2 separate regions of the Homo sapiens genome follow, and region 1 is linked to region 2. The links are contacts of gene promoters, found by promoter capture Hi-C in human tissues and cell types (Jung and others, 2019). All regions are on one chromosome and are shown on one strand. Each heading gives the region's core, a stretch centred on a gene start or on the middle of the fragment in contact. The rest is flanking DNA. Distances are from core to core; before and after follow the strand shown. Region 1 overlaps WWC1 (WW and C2 domain containing 1). Region 2 holds the start of FBLL1 (fibrillarin like 1).

What was found. The method cuts DNA at HindIII sites, captures the fragments that hold promoters and counts their contacts. A contact is called where the count stands out against the background at its distance.
Region 1: a contact is called between a fragment that was not itself captured here and the fragment with the promoter of FBLL1 in region 2, in 2 of the 25 tissues and cell types used here (H1 embryonic stem cells and bladder).

What each region holds. Positions count from the first base shown.
Region 1 is chr5:168,457,793-168,464,342 of GRCh38, forward strand. WWC1 (WW and C2 domain containing 1) reads left to right here. Exons shown (of 23, transcript NM_015238.3): 20 at 2,858-2,950. Among named protein-coding and RNA genes, the nearest start is that of RARS1, 25 kb to the right of the region's middle. The HindIII fragment of the contact is 8,999 bases long and covers 564-6,550 here.
Region 2 is chr5:168,527,426-168,533,871 of GRCh38, forward strand. It overlaps FBLL1 (fibrillarin like 1), which reads left to right and starts at 1,880. Exons shown (of 1, transcript NM_001355274.2): 1 at 1,880-3,209. The coding sequence starts at 2,080. The coding sequence ends at 3,084. RefSeq lists a silencer at 1,039-1,333 and enhancers at 2,187-2,728, 3,584-3,753. The HindIII fragment of the contact is 8,115 bases long and covers 1-4,433 here.

The sequences.
Region 1 (6,550 bases), core at 3,813-6,312, 66 kb before region 2:
GCATGGAAGCTCTGGTCACTGCTGCCACTGCCACTACTTACCATTAATGGCTTTTCCCTGAGATAAAAACAAACTTGGCACATTTGTAGAATGAAGGAGAGAAAGAGTGGCCTGTTTCAATTCAAGAGACAATAGTAATAGACTTGGGTGCAAGTCACCAGGTTGTGATTCAAGGCCTGGAGCATTTGCATCCAATTGACAGGCTAGTCCTGTGCCTGCCTCTAGCTGCAAGGGAGGCAGTAGAAGCAAGGTTCTGCTACTTTCAGCTTCATCAGTGGGAGGTTGGCTTTGTTTCCCACCAAGTCATAAGGTGGGGTTTTCTCACCCACAGGATGGGATTTCAAATGCTAATCAGCAACACTTCCAGCCCCCACAGCCAAAAAATATATTTTCTGTGTAATCTAATCTTACAGCCCTGTAAGGTGAGTTGTGTGAACCCCATTTTATAGACACAGAAGCTAAGACTCAAAAACTCAAAGCACTGTGCTCTAGGTCACACAGCTGCTAAGTACAAAGCTGGGAGTCCAACTCCAAAGCCTGCAGCCTCTCTGTTGCTCAGAGCCACCTCCTGAGGGCCTTCCTCTGGCCTCCTCGGGTCTGATCGTGAGTAGCCCCTTCCACTGGCCTCTGCACAAAAGGCGTCCTCTGCTGGGTGCCTCCCTTGTTCGATCTTCATCTTCACCTATGTCACTTGGTTAGTTTTGCTGTCTTGAGTTCCCCCACTGAACTCGAAGTCCATGGATAGGGACAATGAATTACCCTTCCTACAGCTCTCCTCAGCCCCCATGTATTCATCTGAAGTGCTACCACATTTGTGGGTTGATTGACTTTGACCAAATAGACACAGCCCATCCTAAATTCTCATTCCTGAACTAGCTTCCTGTGATTCTAAATGATTTCACTGCTCTCTGCATCAGTTTCTCTAGCTATTAAATGCAAGTAATAATAAGGTGACAACATTCTCTACCATGTCTGAGATTAAATGCATTAAAGTGTCTTTATATTAGAGAAAGCTAAATTCAAGGACTTAATGTAGCTTCTGTCTTTCTTTTATATAACATAGTCTTTAACATGTAAACAACTACAACTTAAGGATCAATTATCCTGATACCCATTTCTGGTCGGTAGGACACATATCCTTCAAGTGCCACCACTGGATTAAAACAATGTAGAATAAAAGGCTGGGCACAGTGGCTCACATCTGTAATCCCAGGACATTGAGAGGCTGAGATGGGAGGATCACTTGAGCCCAGGAGTTTGAGACCAGCCTGGGCAACATGGTGAAACCTTGTCTCTACAAAAAATGCAAAAATTATCCGGGCACAGTGGCACGTGCCTTTAGTCCCAGCTACTTGAGAGGCTGAGGCGGGAGAATCACTTGAGCCCGAGAAGTCAAGGCTGCAGTGAGACGAGATAGCACCATTGCACTCCAGCCTGGGCGAAAGGAGTGAAACCCTGTCTCAAAAAAAAAAAAAAAAAAAAGAAAGAAAGAAAGAGAAAGCCCCCTTCTGGTACCACATGCAACCAGTTTATATGAATCTACCCCAGTTGTCAAGATGGCACACCCTTCCACCTGCACATTAGTTTCATCCCTGAGCCCTACTTACAGGCTGGAGCCAGGAGAGCTGGTGGCCTTGGAACCAAACAGACTGGGCCTTGAACTCTGGTTTTGATGCTCCCCAGCTGTTCAACTATACAAGCTTCTTAATCTCTCTGGGCCTCAGTTCCCATCATGTTAGGATTGTCTGAGGATTAAATGAAACTGTCACTGAAGCACCTGGCACGTAGCAGGTGCTCTATCCATGTGGCAGTCATTATTTTTACTATTCAGCGTCTGGTTCTGTTGAGGCCCTGCCTAGCCCAGTGGCTATTTCATCAGTCTGTCCCTGGAGTTGCTGTGTTTGTCAGCTTAGCAGGACTATTAATATCATTATCACAATTAATTATCAATAACCACAGAAACAGCTTCTCAGGAGACCTGCAACAGTGAACTGACAGCTGCTAGACACACAAGCACAATAGCATCGGCCTGTCACAACCCCACCGATTTTGGAAATAGGACTCGAGAAAGAAATCCCCACTCTGCTCCCACCTCCCAGGGGGTGCTGTCATCCTACCCACTCTCCCTTGCGCTCCTTAGGGGTGGGACACATTCTCAATATAGAAGCTTCCCATCCTGACTACAGGCCTGATTTCTGGTCTTAGATGGGGAATACTAGCCCTCTGGGGGGAGTATAGATAACTCAGTGATCGAGCGGATGCCCACGGGGAGAGTTACGATCTGCCCCATCATCTCTAAGGATATGGTCCCTGAGGCTTTGCCTTTAAGCTGTCTTTTTCTTTTTTAAATATCCATCTTGACAGTGGCTCCATTTGAGTCAGTAAAGGCAGGCTCCATAGACACCAGGGAAGAGTTGATGCAAATGGCCCTTTGTGTAGAAGGTTAAGAGGGCAGTATACTCTGAAGTCACGCTGGCCAGTGTCCAGCCCTGCTGTGCGGCTGACCAGCTCGCCAATCTTGGGCCAGTTCTGCAACCCCTAAGCTTCTGTCACCTCACTTGTGAAAATGGATTTGCTCCTATCACATGGGGTTGTTGGAAAGGTTCAATGGGATATTCGTGGCATTTAGCATCGTGCAGATACTAGCATGGAGATGAAGCAGTATGCATCATGCATAGTACATGCTTAACGAATGTTCACTTATAAAGAAAAGAAAGGTCAGAATGAAACCTGGGTGTTTGCAGAAGGAGAGGAAGGACTGTGCCGAGTGGAGGAACCTGACCTCCCTCTAGGCTTCAGTGCACCTTCCAGAATGCACTCTGACCATGTTTAAGATTCCATGACTTTTCTCTTGCAGCTGAATCGGAGTGATAGTGACAGCTCCACTCTGTCCAAAAAGCCACCTTTTGTTCGAAACTCCCTGGAGCGACGCAGCGTCCGGATGAAGCGGGTAAGAGAGTCACCTCAAAGCTATTTTTCTGCCTGCTCCTCCCTCGTTGCCCCAAGCCCTGTGTCCTGCACACACATCTCCTAATGTCTGGCCATTTCTCCTCAGCCACTGGCTAGAAAAATGTTGCTCTCTCAAGCATTTGCGAACAGATGTTTGTGAACTATGAGGCCTGTGTAGCCACAGGGGAAGGTGCTGAAGGGTAAATGTATTTGTCTTATTATGACAAATAGGTTAGATGAGGAGTGTGTACACTTGGCCTTGCCTTCCTAGATAGAAATCAAAGTCAGTAAGAACTAACCAACCCAGCCGGGCCCCGTGGCTCACACCTGTAATCCCAGCACTCTGGGAGGCCGAGGTAGGAGGATCACCTGAGGTCTGGGGTTTGAGACCAGCCTGGCCAACACAGTGAAACCCCATCTCTACTAAAAATACAAAAATTAGCCGGGCGTGGTAGCGTGTACCTGTAGTCCCAGGCTGTACTTGGGAGGCTGAGGCAGGAGAATCGCTTAAACGCAGGAGGCAGAGGTTGCAGTGAGCTGAGATTGCGCCACTGCACCCCAGCCTGGGCAACAGAGTGAGACTCTGTCTCAGGAAAAAAAAAGAAGAATTAACCAACCCAACAGTCATCAGTTAGAGCGCGTCATCTGACAGGAGTCTTCCTCATGCAAGACTCTGCTCAGTGTGTCTGTCGTCCAGGTTCTGGTGACAGAGAAGCTGGGTGCCTCTGAGCACCAGCCTGAAGCAGGGAAGTGCAAATGGGCTTCCCTCAGACCAGCGGGAAGCCCACAGGGAAGAGGCTGCAGACTTGCCTTGCGGAAGTCTCGCCTTTCCTAGTGGAGACTGAGCTGAGCCATCCGGATGGGGTGGGGGTAGGCAAAGGAGCGACCCCTGATTTGTCTTTGACCATTAAGGGCTGCAGGAGATGCAGGGGGCCCTCCCGACTTTGGGCTTTCAACACAACTTTAAAGCAGTTCTGTCTAATGAGTTTGCAGAACCAGAAGAAACCAGGAGCCAGAATGTCAGAAAGAAAAAAGGGGCCAGGCGTGGTGGCTCACGCCTGTAATCCCAGCACTTTGGGAGGCCGAGGCAGGTGGATCACCTGAGGTCAGGAGTTCGAGACCAGCCTCAGCATTGAGAAACTCCGTCTCTACTAAAAATACAAAATTAGCTGGGCGTGGTGGTGCATGCCTGTAATCCCAGCTACTCGGGAGGCTGAGGCAGGAGAATTGCTTGAACCTGGGAGGCGGAGGTTGCAGTGAGCCGAGATCGCGCCGTTGCACTCCAGCTGGGCAACAAGAGTGAAACTACATCTCAAAAAAAAAAAAGAAAGAAAGAAAAAAGGAGAGAGAAAGCAAAAGAGAACATGGATGGAAAAGATAGTGCCAATAGCCCCCAGTAGGGGCAGGCCCCCCACCTTTCCTGCACTGCCTGCTGACAGCCAGAATCTGGTCCTTTGCCTAACATCCTACACCTTAACAAGTCTGAGGGGGAACTGGAGAGAGGAGAGAGACAGCAACACAGGGGAGGCTACACAGGGAAGGCAGAGTGTGCGGGTGTGGGAGAAAGTGGACATGGCCTCAGGTGACAGGGACAACCAACTGCCCACTCTGGGTCCCCCACCCCAACCCCCTCTTCTGTAGCTGGCTTGTACTGCAGTCTCTGGAGCACCAAAAGTTACCTGGGGAGCTTGGTGACAATGCAGATTACAAGGCCACACTTCTGACCATTTAATTCAGGCAGCTGGCGTGGGCCCTGAAAACTGCATTTTAACAAAGCTCCTTAGGGGCTTCTGGAGCAGATGTTCATGGTCCACTCCTGCAGAAATGCCACTGATCTCCTACTTGCTCCCCCTGCGTTTCCCACAGCTCCCTTCTAAGGCAGGCCCTACAGGAGCAGGTCCCCTTCATCATCCCCTGTTCCCCTTAACCAAGAGAATGACTTAATAAGGGAGCCCCGATGGTGGGTCTGAGCCCACATTTCCCTCGGGTCCTGAGGAACAGGAGAATCCAGAGGCTGGGCCTGGGCCCTTGGGCACTGCTCCTTGCTTCCACGCACTACCTGAGCTGTGTTGTCTCTACCGCAGCCTGCCCAACTTCTGAGACTGGACAGACGAAGCAAAAGAATCTTTATTTGTTGCTCTGAGAACTTGAGCCACGTAGATCACTCAGCTGGATTTCCTTGATCCTGCTCATTTATAAGTGCAGAGCAGACCATGTTCAACCTAGAAGAGCATTCTAGAAATTCTTCCTAGAGCTGTCTTATATTCCTAATAGTATGCTTGCCAGCCGTGCAAAATGAGACTAGGTCTTATGGTAATGCTTCTTATACTGTGTCTGAAATCTCTGTATTGGTCATTGTATTTGTTTTCTATTGCTGCATAATAAATCACCACAAACTTAGCAGCCTAAAGTAATACAAATGCCTTACTTCACAGTTTCCGCTGGTCAGGAGCTTAAGCACAGGTTAGCTGAGCTCTGCCCAGGGTTTTAGCAGGCTGAAACCTCTAAGTGTTAAATGGCCACATACTCATCTGGAGGCTTGACTAAGGAAACATCTGATCCAGGCACTGCCTCCAGATGTTGGCAGAATTTATTACTTTGTATTATCTTGCTAGCTGTCAGCTGGGGGTTTAGGGGAGCACTTTCAGCTCCTAGAGGTCACTCTCAGGTTTTTGCCCTGTGACGGTCTCTACAACATGCTTTATTTACTTCTTTAAGGCCAGCAGAAGAGCCCAGCCAGGAAAAGCCCAGGCCATCTTTTAGGGGCTTACCTGATGAAAGGAGAGGAGATTATACAGGGCGTGTATATTAGCAATGGGATTTGAGAAACCATTTTAGAATTCTGACTCCCACAGTCATGAATTATTGTTTTTTAATCGTTAGTGATTTTTGATGGGAGGAGAGTTAATGATTGTATTAATCAGGGTCTTTTACGTATAGATAACTGAAGAACCCAACTCAAATACAGCTTAAAAATGAAAGAGGGAATTTATTGTCTCATTTAATGAAAAAATCCAGGATGTTGGACTACCTTCAGGCATGGCTTGATCCAGAGGTTGAAATGATGTCATCAGGCCTCAGCCCCTTTCTCATGGCATTGCTCCCTCTGTACAGCTTAATTCTCAAACAGGTCACCCCACAAGTAAAGATGACCATGATCAGTCCCAGGTTTATATCTTGAAGGCTTAGCAACCTCTGTGTAAAGACATTGTCTCTTTTCCAAGTAGTTCAGCAAAGTGCCAGAATTGAGTATTAATGGCTGGGCTTTGATAACATGCTTACCTCTGAACCTGTCACTGAGATGCAGACTGGCCAGGTTCAGGTCACATTCCTATCCCTGATGCCCCACACAAACCAGGTGGATTGAGTGCAGAGGAGGAGGTCTCCAAGGGAAGGTGAGGGCATTGTTACTCTAAGGCTGGGGAAACAAATGGTGGACAAGCAGAAACAATAGGGGCCCATTACAGGAACACAAAGTCAAGAAGACATGACTTCTGCCCTCAAGCAGGAACAGACCTGTATTGGGGAAACAACTTCAGAACAGTACAGTGACAGGAATCAATAATTGAGAACGTACATATGGAGGGTGCTGAGAGTACTG
Region 2 (6,446 bases), core at 630-3,129:
GTCTCCCTCTGTCACCTAAGCTGGAGTGTAGTGGTGTGAGTTCAGCTCACTGCAGCCTTGATCTCCCAGGCTCAAGCGACCCCTCCAGCTCAGCCTCCTCAGTAGCTGAGGTACTACAGGTACTACAGTGACTACAGGTACTACAGTGACTACAGGTACACACCATGACACCTGGCTAAGTCTTGTTTATTTTTGTAGAGACAGGGTCTTGCTATCATGCTAGGACTGGTCTTGAACTCGTGGGCTCAATCAATCCTCCCACCTTGGCCTCCCAAAGTGCTGGGATTACAGGTGTGAGGCACTGTGCCCAGTTCTTTCTTAACCTTTCTATCTTCTCTATCTCATTTTTGCCTCCCCAACATGTGCTTCCTGGGATCACCTCACAAACCAATTGGACTCAAGGCTTTGTCTCAGGATCTCTATTATTCAAGGTTCTCCAAAGACACAGGCCTGTAGGATATATATATGTGTGTATATATAGGATATATATTGGCTCATGTGATTGTGGAGACCAGCAGGTCCAAAATCCGCAGGGCCAATGTCCCAGTCCAAAGGTTGTCAGGCAGAAAGAGCTGATGTGCCAGTTGAAAGGCCCTTGGGCAGGAGAATTCTCTCTTCCGTGGGGAAGGTCAGCATTTTGCTTTATTTCTGCCTTCAACTGATTAGATGAGGCCCAGCCACATCGTAGACGGCAATCAGCTTTACTCAATATACCAATTTAAATGTTAATCTCATCAAAAAACACCCTCACAGAAACACTCAGAATACTATTTGACCAAATATCTGGGCATCCCATGGCCCAGTAAAGTTGACACATAAAATTAACCCTCACAGACACCAAGTGTAGTTCATCATTTTGGAAAATATTCACCTTATAGCAAGAATGGAAACCTCTAAGTAGAGTATTTTATGTGAACCATTCAACCTCAGGAATCATACATTTCACTCACTGATCCCTTGTTCACATTCCAGTGTATAAAACTCTGGTCCCCATTAAGGAGACACTCCAGTCCTCAGGGAAAATCAGACCTGGCACTGTCGTCCATGAGTATGAGACGGGAAGAGCTGTGGTCCAGGATGGAACGGAAGTCATACTGCACATACCAGGTGTTCAGTAAATGCTCCGATCTTCAGGTGCGCGTTGTCTCTCTCTCTCTCTCTCTCGAGTAGACACTTAATTCAACTAACGGGAGGCTGGCCAGTTGTTTCACCACCTATCCTACTTTCCCCAGCTCTTGTGTGGTTCCCAAAGCCCCTAGCAGTAGCCAAAACGGGGGCCCCAACTGCTGTCGCTGTCCCTGGTGCTGACTAAACCCTAAAGCCTCTGCGTTGCGGCCTTGGGGCCATTGGTGGTGCCGAGTTATTCTTTTATTTTCTTTCTGTTCTTTTCTTTTTTTCTTTTCTTCTCGTTGCTGCCCTTGGTGCTGCCCAATTATTCTTTTCTTTTCTTCTCCTCTCCCTCTCTCTCTTTTCTTTCTCTCTCTTTCTTTCTTTTTCTCTTTTTCTTTCTTTCCTCAAGAAAATGCTGCAGATTTAGAGAGTGACTTTGAAGCATAGACTAGACTTCGAGGATGAACATGACATTTTGGCTCTCTGTGTATCCCCATTCACACTGAAGAATCAACAACACTTCCTTGCTGATCAATAGTCCCAGAACTGGTGGCACAGCCAGGACCGACGCTGATGCTTACCTCCCCCTCTCCTGCAGCAGAGACGCCCCCGTCCCTGTGGCCCAGGGAAGTGCCAGGGATCCCTGGGAAGGCGGGAGATGGGGAAGGGGCAGGGTGAGCGAAGAGGAGCAGGCTGCGTCTGCACGCGGGCTGGGAAGCGGGGCTTCCGGGCCGCAGGGTCGCGGGGACGGGTGTGATGCAATCGCGCCACAGCCGCTGCGTCAAGGGGCGGCTCCGGGATGCGGGCACTGCGGTAGAGCCCGTCCTGCCCCCGCCGCCCGCCGCCCGCCGCCCGCCTCCGCTGCTAAACCCGCGGACAACCGCCGGGACGACCACCCAGAGCCACCAGAGCCCCCTGACACCCGCCCCGAGGCACCGGTAACCCACGGCACCCGCCCCGGTGCGTGCCATGAAGTCGGCCGCGAGCTCGCGCGGGGGCGGTGGGGGCGGCCGCGGGGGCGGCGGCTGGGGCAGCTGGGGCGGGGGCCGAGGCGGCGGCGGCGGCGCGGGCAAGGGCGGCGGGGGCGACGGCGGCGGCCAGGGGGGCAAGGGCGGCTTCGGGGCGCGGGCGCGCGGCTTCGGCGGGGGCGGCCGGGGCCGGGGGCGCGGCGGCGGCGACGGCAAGGATCGCGGCGGCGGTGGACAGCGGCGGGGCGGCGTGGCCAAGAGCAAGAGCCGCCGCAGGAAGGGCGCCATGGTGGTGTCGGTGGAGCCGCACCGGCACGAGGGCGTCTTCATCTACCGCGGGGCGGAGGACGCGCTGGTCACGCTGAACATGGTGCCGGGCCAGTCTGTGTACGGCGAGAGGCGCGTCACGGTGACCGAGGGCGGCGTGAAGCAGGAGTACCGCACGTGGAACCCGTTCCGCTCTAAGCTGGCCGCGGCCATCCTGGGCGGGGTGGACCAGATCCACATCAAGCCCAAGTCCAAGGTGCTGTACCTGGGCGCCGCGTCGGGCACCACCGTCTCCCATGTCTCCGACATCATTGGCCCAGACGGCCTGGTCTACGCCGTCGAGTTCTCCCACCGCGCCGGCCGCGATCTGGTCAACGTGGCCAAGAAGCGCACCAACATCATTCCGGTCCTGGAGGACGCGCGGCACCCGCTCAAGTACCGCATGCTCATCGGGATGGTGGACGTGATCTTCGCCGACGTGGCCCAGCCGGACCAGTCCCGCATCGTGGCCCTGAACGCCCACACCTTCCTGCGCAATGGGGGCCACTTTCTCATCTCCATCAAGGCCAACTGCATCGACTCCACCGCATCCGCCGAGGCTGTGTTTGCTTCTGAGGTGAGGAAGTTGCAGCAGGAGAACTTGAAGCCTCAAGAGCAGCTGACCCTGGAGCCCTATGAGCGGGACCACGCTGTGGTGGTCGGGGTCTACCGACCTCTTCCCAAGAGCAGCAGCAAATAGCACCCAGCTCAGGCTCGCCTGCCATCTCCCCAAGGCTGCGTTGTGTTTGCTATTATTTTCTGTGTGTTTTCTTTGTGAGTGTTTTGTTTTGTTGTTTTTCTATTAAACTGCATAAAGAAACGGCACCTATCTGTATGGTGATGCCAGGCTAGGTTTTGCTGCAGTAACAATCAACCCCCAAATCCCAGTGGCCTAAACCGGCTGGTATAAGGGGCCCATCCAGCAGTAGCCTGGGAGCTGTGCTCATTCTAATCACTCAGGTCTCCAACTCCCCAGGGCCCCATTTTCACACATGCTCCCCCCATCCCTAGGGCAGAGGAAAGAGAGCTGCGGAATTGCTAATAAAAGCTTTTAAATGTCCCCTTGGAACTGATGGGGCACTTCTGCTCACATTTGGCCAAGTCACATGACCCAGCCTGACTCGGGAAAAACACTGAATGTTGGTGGACAATAATATAGTCAAACACACCAATCATCTGACTCACAGCCAAAGTCTTAACCACAATAGGTTTTTAGTATTTTACTCTTCAACTAAGCCCTTTTGCATTCACTGTTAAAGTGAATAATAAATAAATGTTAAATTTATTCCTCACACCAGCCCTGAGATGGCTTTGTTAGCACTTGCATATTACATGTGAAGCAACAGGGCTTCTGAAGGTAAACTATTTTGCCCAAACGTACATAGCCAGTAAGGAGGTAGAACTTAAATGCCAGTCTTCGGGGCTCTAAATCCATTGCTGTTTCCTCAGCACCAGGGGGATCTTGTCTCTGGTCCCCAACCCCTATGGCATGTGCACAGGGACACACTTAGAGCAGGGCCCTGTGACCTTATTGTGTTCTTTCGCCCTCCCCTGTCCCCCCCGGGCTACCCCTTTGTTTGGTTTCACAATAGCAAAACAAGATGCGGGGCAGATGTGGGTCTAGCTAGCAGACTGTCTCTACTACAGGGCATAACATACCCAAAGTGGTATCACCAAGTGTCTGCAGAACAGGCAGACAAATTACTCCCAGAAAGTATCTGTCTTTGCAAGGCATGTCCTGCACTTCCCAAGTTGCTGGTCTCAGTACCTCGCAGTCTCTCTCCAAAGCAGCCCAAAGGGAAGGGAGAGTGGGTAATCCGAGGAAAGCTGAGAATGCCCCAAAGGCCCAGTAAATCCCTCCAAGCCAGACTTTTCATTCATTCATGCATGCATGCATACACACTCCCAACTGCCAAAAAGACCCACATCAACATTTAGTCTTTGAATGATTGCTCACTAATGTATCATTTGGAGGGTGGATTTGCCTTTCTAAAGATGTGCTTGGGCAGCAATTGTGGTTAGTCTGCTTTTTCTGAGGGCATACTTCTTGAACAACAACAAAGGATAAATCAGACTTTTTATTTTTGTTTTATTTTATTTATTTTATTTGAGACAGGTCTTGCTCTGTCGCCAAGGCTGGAATGCAGTGGCGCAATCATGGCTCACTGCAGCCTTGAACTCCTAGGCTTAAGTGATCTTCCTGCCTCAGCCTACCACACCTGGCTAATTTAAAAAAAAAATGTTTGTGGAGAAACAGTGTCTCGCTTTGTTGCCGAGGCTGGTCTTGAACTCCTTGCTTCAAGAAATCCTCCTGCCTCAGACTCCCACACTGGGATTAGAGGCGTGAGCTATGGCACCTGGTCCAAATCAGACTTTTGAAAAGGCTGCCACTCTTTCACCACTCCCCCATCCTACGCCACCCCAAAATTCAGAAAGGGAATTACAGTTCAGATGTATCAGCAAGACTGACTCAGGAAGAAGAGAGTGAATGCCGTACATGTCTATTTCCATAAACAATGGAAATCTTCATTACAACCCTGCAAAGCCAGGATCACTTTTCCTATTTAGCATATAAGAACACTGCAGTTCAGAGATGAAAGTGCCTGGTTTAAGATCCCCCAGAAAGGCTCACAGCCAGAAATCACAGCTTTGTTAGTCTGACTCCAAAACCTATGTCATTTTCACTGAAGTCTGTGCTGGTTCTGTTGCCTTGAAAAGCCCTCTCTCCAATCCTAGGCTAATTTATTAGTTGCTGTGATGAAGCCCTGAGGCTGGGGTGGACTCCCTGGGAACAGGAACTGTTTCCTCACTAGGGGAAGACAGAAGCAGCTGGGTACTCAGGAGGGAGGGGCTCTGCAGCAGCTGAGGCCCATGACCCAGCCCCTCCTCAGAGCCAGATGGGCTCCATAAAGGAGCTCTTGATTGCTCCTTAAAGGTTTTTCCCCCCAGCATGGGGGATGAAGCAGGGGAAACTCTACCTCCTTCCTTGGCATGGGAACTCCCATTCCCTGCCCCTCCTGCCGCAAGTGAAATTTAAAGTCATGTCTGAAGCTTCTCAAAGAGGGAACCATTCATGAGGAAATGGCAACAAAACAATCTCCTGAAGAATTTCCCTGCATTGCAGATGAGTTCCTGAGCCAATGGAATGACATGGTGAGTACCAGGAAAAATATAGGAATAAGGGCCAAGGGAATACAGGAAGGGAGCTGGAACCTGGTTTTAGAGGATGATGGCAGGGAAAAGAATGGGACTATAGTCTGGGCACAGTGGCTCATGCCTGTGATCCCAGCACTTTGGGAGGCCAAGGCACATGGATAACTTGAGTCCTTGAGTCGAGACTAGCCTGGTCAACATATGAAACCCCATCTCTACTAAAAATACAAAAAATAGCTGGTGGCGGGCAACTGTAATCCTAACTTCTTGGGAGGCCGAGGCAGAAGAATCGTTTGAACCTGGGAGGTGGAGGTTCCAGTGAGCTGAGATCATGTCACTGCGAGACTCTGTCTAAAAAAAAAAAAAAAAATTATCGGACTGTAACTCCAGTGGGCCTTGGGTCCCAAGAAACCTAGAAGTAGCAGTGACCCTGGTTAACAGACCTGCTCAGAGCCAGGAATGCTTCAGTGACTATCAGCTTGGGTTCCAAGAAGCCTTTACATTTGGGTCTCTAGGTATATTAGTCTTCTCAGGCTGTTGTAACAAAATACTACATGCTAGGTGGCTTAAACAACAGATACTCATTTTCTCACTATTCTGGATGGAGGCTAGAAGTCCAATATCAAGGTGCTGGAATTCAGTTTCTGGTGAGGACTCTCTTCCTGGCTTGTAATCGGCCACCTTCTTGCTGTGTCATATATGTGGCCTTTCCTCTGTTCACACACAGTGAGAAAGAGAGAGCTCTTTGGTGTTTCTTCCCCTGTTTAGAAGGATACCAATCCTGCTGGATTAGGATCCTACTCTTAGGACCTCTTTTAACCTTAATTACCTCCTTAGGGCCCTATCCCCAAATATAGTAACACTGGGGATTGGGGCTTCAATTTGTGAATTTTCTGGGACACAATTCGG